Linked DNA regions of Homo sapiens: region 2 is linked to region 1. The links are contacts of gene promoters, found by promoter capture Hi-C in blood cells and fetal thymus (Javierre and others, 2016). All regions are on one chromosome and are shown on one strand. Each heading gives the region's core, a stretch centred on a gene start or on the middle of the fragment in contact. The rest is flanking DNA. Distances are from core to core; before and after follow the strand shown.

Evidence for each region. The method cuts DNA at HindIII sites, captures the fragments that hold promoters and counts their contacts. A CHiCAGO score of 5 or more calls a contact.
Region 2: the fragment with the promoter of TPGS1 here is called in contact with the fragment with the promoter of PLPP2 in region 1 in 1 of 17 cell types (M1 macrophages); the score reaches 6.6 in M1 macrophages.

Annotation. Positions count from the first base shown.
Region 1 is chr19:290,153-292,652 of GRCh38, forward strand. PLPP2 (phospholipid phosphatase 2) reads right to left here and starts at 1,251. Exons shown (of 6, transcript NM_003712.4): 1 at 1,133-1,251. The coding sequence starts at 1,184. RefSeq lists enhancers at 1-447, 1-417, 448-1,145. The HindIII fragment of the contact is 12,026 bases long and covers 7-2,500 here.
Region 2 is chr19:503,889-509,129 of GRCh38, forward strand. TPGS1 (tubulin polyglutamylase complex subunit 1) reads left to right here and starts at 3,609. Exons shown (of 2, transcript NM_033513.3): 1 at 3,609-3,956. The coding sequence starts at 3,619. MADCAM1-AS1 (MADCAM1 antisense RNA 1) reads right to left here and starts at 4,001. Exons shown (of 3, transcript XR_936221.4): 1 at 3,488-4,001. It overlaps MADCAM1 (mucosal vascular addressin cell adhesion molecule 1), which reads left to right. Exons shown (of 5, transcript NM_130760.3): 5 at 857-1,455. The coding sequence ends at 1,077. RefSeq lists enhancers at 2,685-3,542, 3,415-3,754 and a silencer at 2,755-2,884. The HindIII fragment of the contact is 8,539 bases long and covers 2,730-5,241 here.

The DNA of each region.
Region 1 (2,500 bases), core at 1-2,500:
TGCTCAAGCTTCCAGCATAGAGGTGCACTCGGCCTGGCCACCACCCCTGGCACACAGCAGCAACAGCCAACCCCATCTCGGCTGTACCTCCCGCTGCTGTGTGACCTCCGGCAGGTGACTCAGCACCTCCCTCACAGGCTGTTGTAAGGGAAATGTTTGTTATTTGCATGTTGCTTAGTTCCTGGCATACAGAAAGTGCCACCTAAATGTTTACATAAATAACACCATAGGTGCTCAGGAAATGGTACCACGGGCTGGCAGACACCCACAGGGACTTCTTGCTGTCACCTGGCCCACCCTAAAAAAGGGTCTCCTTCCGGAGGTAAGAGGACTTGGCCTCTGCTGTGAGATGGCAGAGAAGCAGGAAACACGTTGGGGAGGAGGGCACCCCCCAGAGATAGAATTCCAGGGCCATTGTCTGTGCAGCCACAGAGCAAACACTCGGCCTTTGTTCCCGGGACCCTGCGGGAGGGGGGCCTCGGGATGCCCATTCCGCCAGTGTGGCCCGCAAACCCGCCGGACAGGTTTGGTTCTCCTGGCCTCCCGGCCCCCCGCCACCCCGTTCACCCGAAGCCTGGGACCCAGCCTTCATCCCCAGTGTCTCCCCCGCCCGAGCCAGCAGGGCGGCTGGGCCTCCCCGCACGTGCACGGGTTCGAATCCCGCCGACGCACCGGGTGCCAGGACCGAGGGTCAGCCCTCTCCGCGCGCAGCGGGAGCGCCCACCCCAGGGGCGGAGGCGCGGACGTCCTGCCGGGGTAACCCGCGGCCGCCCCCACCTCCCGGGCCCGCGTGACTCACCTCCCAGGCCAGGCGGGGCGGGATGGAGGCGCGCGCGCGGCCCCTCCGCACAGACTTCCTGCTGCCGGGGCGGGGGATGCTGGCCCCGGCTCCCCGGGCCTCTCGCGACCCCCATCCCCCTGGGCCTGGGACGCGGGGACCCCCGAGCCTGGGAGGGCGCGCGCAGTGCGGGGCGCGGAGGGAGGTCTGGTCCTCACGCGAGGTCCCCGCCTCCAGGGTCCTCGGAGGGACGAGGGCGCGCAGCCTCCGCGTTCCCCTGCAAACTTGCGCGCAGCCGGGGGCGTGTCCGTCCCGGGAGGGTCCCCCCAACACCCGGGTCCCCAAGGCTCTTACCGACCAGTAAGCACAGCACGTCGAGCAGCACGAAGACCCACCTCCGCTGCATGGTCCCCGCGACCCCCGACGCCGGTCCCAGCGCGTCCCGTCGCGTCCCGGCCCGGCCGCGGAGTCACGTGGCGCGGAGCCCGCCCCGCGCGGAGAGGAGGGGAGGGGCGGGAAGGGGAGGAGGGGAGGGGCGGGGAGGGCACGAGGGGAGAGGTGAGGAGGGGAGGGGAGGGGAGGAGGGAGGGTTAGGGGCGGGGAGGGGAGGAGGGAGGGGGAGGGGAGGAGGGGAGGGCTAGGGGCGGGGAGGGGAGGGGGGAGGGGGAGGGAAGGGAAGAAGGGGGGGAGGGGAGGAGGGAGGGGGGACGGCAGCGGCGGGCAGGGGAGCAGCGGGGGGGGCGGGGCGCGGCGGACCCGGGACCGCGCGGACTCTGCCCCCGCCTGGCCGCGGCGCCCAAAAGAGCGGGTGGGGCGAGCGTGCGGGCGCCACGGGGACCTCGTCCGCCCGGAGTCCCGGCCCTGACCCGGGCTGTGCGGGTCTCCGAGCGGCGTGAGGTCCTCAGAGGCTGGAGGTTCCCCGCGGGTCGGGCCGGCGGAGCCCCGGGCGGGGACGTGGAGAAGGAGGACGAGCAGCGGCGGGACCGGCCCCGCGGGACGGTTCCCGACTTTCCTCCTCAGGGAGTGGCAGCCGCGCCGTGTGCGCCTGGAAACTCCGACAGCAGGAGGCACCTTAAAGTGGAAGGGGCGACGTGGCTTCATTTCAGGAGTTTCTTTTCTCCTAATACTCAAAATCCTGGCGCGTCCTTGGACCCCTGGCACGTTAGAAGCTCGAGTTCCTCGGCACCCACCTTGCGACGGCGTAGGGTGTCCAGGCGCAGCCCTGTGCCCAGGCACCGTTCCTATCAGCGCACTTGCTGTCCCATTTCACAGAAGAGCACGGGGGCGCCAGGAGCTGGGAACCCCATGAAATGGCGCCGGGGTCTGTGCCCCCACCAGGTCGTGGGGAGCCCTGAGCTGAGGGTGCCTGGGGATTGAGGGCACCTGAGCCAGGGAAACCCAGGCCCAAGGGACCCACACTGGGTCCTTTCGGCTGGGACCATCCGGGAGGCCTCAGGAGTGTCAGACCCACGTTTCCGGAGTCCAGCCTTGACCTCTGCCACTCACGGTCACTTAAATGGGAAGTGGCAGGCCTGGGGTCAGAAACAAGGCTGCTGGGCCCCAGATCCGCTGCCACCCTGACCCTCCTCTAAAACCCGTTCAGCACCACCATCAGCCCCCTGCCCCAGCAACACCAAAACAGGGTGCGTCTCAGCAACTGGACTTCAACTGGGAGCTCCTCGACCCTGCTTCCCGGATGGTCAGACACCTGCACGTGGGGCA
Region 2 (5,241 bases), core at 2,359-4,858, 220 kb after region 1:
AATACAAAAATTAGCCAGGTGTGGTGGCATGTGCCTGTAATCCCAGCTGAGGATTACTCGGGAGGCTGAAGCAGGAGAATCACTTGAACCCGGGAGGCGGAAGTGGCAGTGAGCTAAGATCACGCCATTGCACTCCAGCCTGGGGGACAGAGCAAGATTCCATTTCGAAAAAAAAAAAAAAGTGTGGTCATACATTTCGCAGAGCCCAATATATCCCAAGCATTATCATTTCAACAGGTAATCAATATAAAATAGTATGAAGGAGATATATTACATTCCTCCCTTTTCCCCAGACTAAGTCTTCAAAGTGCAGATTGTAGGCTCAGCACCCTTCATGGTGGTGAGCCGTCCTCTCTCCGGTCTGCCCTTTTTTTTTTTTTTTTTTTTTTTTGAGAGACAGAGTCTCATTCTGTCACCCAGGCTGGAGTGCAGTGGTGCGATCTCAGCTTACTGCAACCTCCACCTCCCGGGTTCAAGTGATTCTCCTGCCTCAGCCTCCCAAGTAGCTGGGATTACAGGCGCCTGCCACCATGTCCAGCTAACTTTGTATTTTTAGTAGGCACAGGGTTTCACCATGGTCAGGCTGGTCTCGAACTCCTGACCTCGTGATCCACCCGCTTTGGCCTCCCGAAGTGCTGGGATTTCAGGCGTGAGCCACCCCGCCTGGCCTGGACTGCCCATTTCTAAACTCTAAGGTGCTATGCGCATTTCAAAAGGGTCATGGTAAAGTCCTTTGTGAAATTTCAGGGAACGTGGTAACTTTGGAAGCACGTGTAGCCTCTGAGGGGCTCCTCCCTTCCCAAGCCTGCAGAGGCCTGGAGGGCTCTGACCGGGGTCTCCTGCACTCTCTCCCCAGCGTCCAAACCTGCGGGTGACCAGCTGCCCGCGGCTCTGTGGACCAGCAGTGCGGTGCTGGGACTGCTGCTCCTGGCCTTGCCCACCTATCACCTCTGGAAACGCTGCCGGCACCTGGCTGAGGACGACACCCACCCACCAGCTTCTCTGAGGCTTCTGCCCCAGGTGTCGGCCTGGGCTGGGTTAAGGGGGACCGGCCAGGTCGGGATCAGCCCCTCCTGAGTGGCCAGCCTTTCCCCCTGTGAAAGCAAAATAGCTTGGACCCCTTCAAGTTGAGAACTGGTCAGGGCAAACCTGCCTCCCATTCTACTCAAAGTCATCCCTCTGTTCACAGAGATGGATGCATGTTCTGATTGCCTCTTTGGAGAAGCTCATCAGAAACTCAAAAGAAGGCCACTGTTTGTCTCACCTACCCATGACCTGAAGCCCCTCCCTGAGTGGTCCCCACCTTTCTGGACGGAACCACGTACTTTTTACATACATTGATTCATGTCTCACGTCTCCCTAAAAATGCGTAAGACCAAGCTGTGCCCTGACCACCCTGGGCCCCTGTCGTCAGGACCTCCTGAGGCTTTGGCAAATAAACCTCCTAAAATGATACAAACGTGTCAGTTTTCTCAGTTGACACCCACTCCGTGGAGAGGAGAGGTCTGAGGGCTCCGGACAGCAGAGGGTTGACTGTGGGTCCTGCCCTGATGGCTCCATCTCCCTCATCCCACAGTCCGGGGCTGGAGAAGAAAGTGTTAGAAATGCTTGTTCCCCGGTGCCGTAAAGAAATAGCACTTGAATATAAATGTCATTTCCTCAGCAAGGCCACTGTTTTACTTTCTGCAGAAAGGGTACACTGGCCAGCAGTTTTGCCACGAGAGTATCCAGAACAAAGGAGACAGGGTCATTTATAACCTGACGCGTCCACCCTACTGCTCTGTCCGGTTTCCATTGGCTGGAACGGGACGGTTTCCATTGGCTGGAACGGGACCTCACATTCTGTATTTATCCCGATCGGCTAGCAGCTTGGAACTTTTAAAAAGAGGCAAAGGCAGAGGAGAACAAAGGAAGGAAGAAGTAGCTTGTGGAATGCTAAGAAAGGTAAAAACACCTTCAAATAAGGAAGAGGAACAGGTTATGACCTAATGCTTGCTTGGACCAGTATAAGCATGCCAGGGCAGATATTTAGCCTACATTGTGGGCACTAAGAACATAAAGTATGTTGATTTCCTTATTACATTATATATATTCAATATAACATTAACAATTAATTAACAAAGAATGTTAGCACAGGTCTTTTGTTTGTTTGTTTTTTGAGACAGAGTCTCGCTCTGTCGCCCAGGCTGGAGTGCAGTGGCGCGATCTCGGCTCACTTGCAAGCTCCGCCTCCCGGGTTCACGCCATTCTCCTGCCTCAGCCTCCCGAGTAGCTGGGACTACAGGCGCCCGCCACCACGCCTGGCTAATTTTTTGTATTTTTAGTAGAGACGGGGTTTCACCGTGTTAGCCGGGATGGTCTCGATCTCCTGACCTCGTGATCCGCCCGCCTCGGCCTCCCAAAGTGCTGGGATGACAGGCGTGAGCCACCGCGCCCGGCCTACCACAGGCCTTTGAATACATTTTGCTTCTAAGAGAAGTTACTATTTATTCCTAATTAGATGGGGAGGAAAGTCTCATTTGAAGAGGAACCTCTACTTCACGTTTTACAAAGGGCATTTGGTCTGCCCGCCAGAGATTCCTGTGCTGGGAGGATGGTGGAACGGTCCCCCGGCAAACAGCTCTCATTGCCCCCTGCCCGGGGCAACGCCCCTGAGGGACGGGGACGGCACCCAGCAAGCTCTGCCCGGGGCGGGGAAACGCGAGGGCTTAGTGGTTTCCTCGGTGAGAAGCTTAACCAGGAGTCCCCGAAAGCAGTGAGGGAAGATCCACAGAGGTCGCCTGGGGAAACACACCCAGAGGCGGCTTATGGAGGAGACTGCTTGTGTTTTGAGGTGGCTGCGGGCTGCGGAGGGTTGGGAGGGCCGGGAGGGCGGCCGGAAGCGAGGTCAGGCGATGAAGGCCTGGAGGTGCCAGCCCGGGGGCCCTGGAGAGCCATGGCAGAGTTTACAGCTCTGGAGGCTGCGGTGTCAGAAAGCTCCCTCTGGCGGTCAGGGGGTAACAGCGCGGGATGCTCGCCCGTGTGGCCGCCAATAGGGGCTCAGCGCAGCTGCAGCGGAGCTGGGGAGGGGGCTTCTCCCACGAGGTGAGCTACGCACTCAGACGTTGACTGAGTTAGGCGGAAGGCCAGGCTGAGCTCGACCCCCAGCACCAAGGCTCAGAGATGAACATGAGAAAAGGGTCTGGGGGCCGGGCGCGGGGCTGGGTCCAGCAGTCCTGGGCAGGTCCAGCCCCGCGCATGCTCCGTCAGGCTTCTCTGCTAACCAGGGAGACTGGTTGCTAGGAGACCATGCTAATGAAGGACTCGCTCACTACCCAAATGGCAAGCAATCCGGCTTTGTGCCAGAAACGAAGCACTTCCGAGGCAGCCATTTTGGAGTCTGGCAAAATTCAGGACCGAGGCCAAAGCCAGGAGAGCCAATCAATATACACAAAGAGGGAGGAGAAGAGAGAGTGCCAATAAGGACACAAGGAAAGTGGTAGCGTACCCTTGTCACTTCCCAAAGTCTCCCAGCGGGATACCGGTGCCCTCTGCCCTTAATCAAGATGGCCGCCTTGGGGGGGCTCTAGCGCACAGTGGAATATGGCGGTGCTTCCGGTCCCGCTGCCCTCAGCGAAGATGGCGGCAGTGGAGAAGCGGCGGCAAGCGGTACCACCGCCGGCCGGTTTCACGGACAGCGGCCGCCAGTCGGTATCCCGGGCGGCGGGGGCGGCCGAGAGCGAGGAGGACTTCCTGCGGCAGGTCGGCGTGACGGAAATGCTACGTGCGGCCCTGCTGAAGGTGCTGGAGGCGCGGCCCGAGGAGCCGATCGCCTTCCTGGCTCACTACTTCGAGAACATGGGCCTGCGCTCGCCTGTAAACGGCGGCGCCGGGGAGCCCCCGGGCCAGCTCCTGCTGCAGCAGCAGCGCCTGGGCCGCGCGCTATGGCACCTTCGCCTGGCCCACCACTCCCAGAGGTGCGCAGTGGGCCGGCTTGGGCGGGTGGGGCAGCGATGGACTTCAACTCCCAGCATGCCGCGCGCGGCTCCCTACCCGCAGCGCCGGCGCAGGGGCCCGGGGCTTGCTGGGAGTTGTAGTGCGCGATGCCTTCTTGGGTGGGATGGATCGGACAAGGTGGGCTGGAGGGTCCGGGCTTCGGTCCGGCGCTAGGCAGCGCGCTGCATGCGGCGCGAGTCCTTCTGGCCGGCTTCGCCTTCTGTGATGCCTTTTTGCAGGTGCTGAGTTTCCCCTTGCAGTTCATGATTTTCAAAATCGTGCAGCTCAAGAGGACTTGGCCCGAGGTCGCAGAGCCAGCCCCCGAGCCAGGTCCTCCTAGTCGCCTCCTTAGCAGCCTCATGTTATCCCCGTCCATTCAGCCAGAACGTGAATATTTACAGAGAGCAGCGCAGTCACCCAGGGCCCCCATCTTAGGGGACAGGCTCCCAGCGGGCAGGTGGGGATTCCTGGAAGAGCCTGGCGATGTGCGGGCGGGTTGCAGGGAAGAGGCCCAGCAGGTGCAAATTTAGACCCCGAGTGTGGGGCACACGGGAGGCGGGAAAGCCACGGAATTTGGCTGAAGCATGCGAGGCTGCAGGTGCCTACGCGCGGTGTCCCCTGGCTGGGGCCAGTTCTGAGCCCAGGGAAGGTGGTTGGGGACTATCTGTTGGCGTTGGGGATGGATGGGCTGATGTCTTTTGTTGGGGGGGGGGTCCCCAGAAGCGGAGCCTGAGGTAGGCATTGTGTGTGCAGGTGATTTTACAAGGGGGTGCGCCCAAGAGAACCCAGGAAGGGGGTGGGAAGAGCAGGCAGGGAAGGATGCCAAGCAAAGGTGCCCTTTCAGCCTCATAACCAGGGCATAAGCGCCCACCATGGCAGCCCTCGCCAGAGTCCCAGAGAAGTTCGGGGGGAGAAGAGAGATGGGGAGTGTCCCCCCTACCACGTTCAGGGTGCACAGGTGTCCAAGATCATACTCAGATAAGGGTGGCAGGGTGTTGGGTACCTGGACAAGGAGCAGACTTGCTCCGGTGGCCCAGTGGCTCTGAAGGCCCCGCCCGATGATTTGCTGGAGCCAGGTGGGAGGGGAGCGGGCAAGGGCAGGCCCAGAGGGTCAGTGGAGCCGTTTACTGCGATGGAAGGCCCCTGGTTTGAAGAAGCTGCCAGAGCCACTTGCGGATTAAGTTGGAGGCTGGGAGGAGCCTGGAGACAGGAAGGTAGAAAGAAGCGTCTGCAACTGACGTGGGGCCAGGACAGAAGACTGAACTG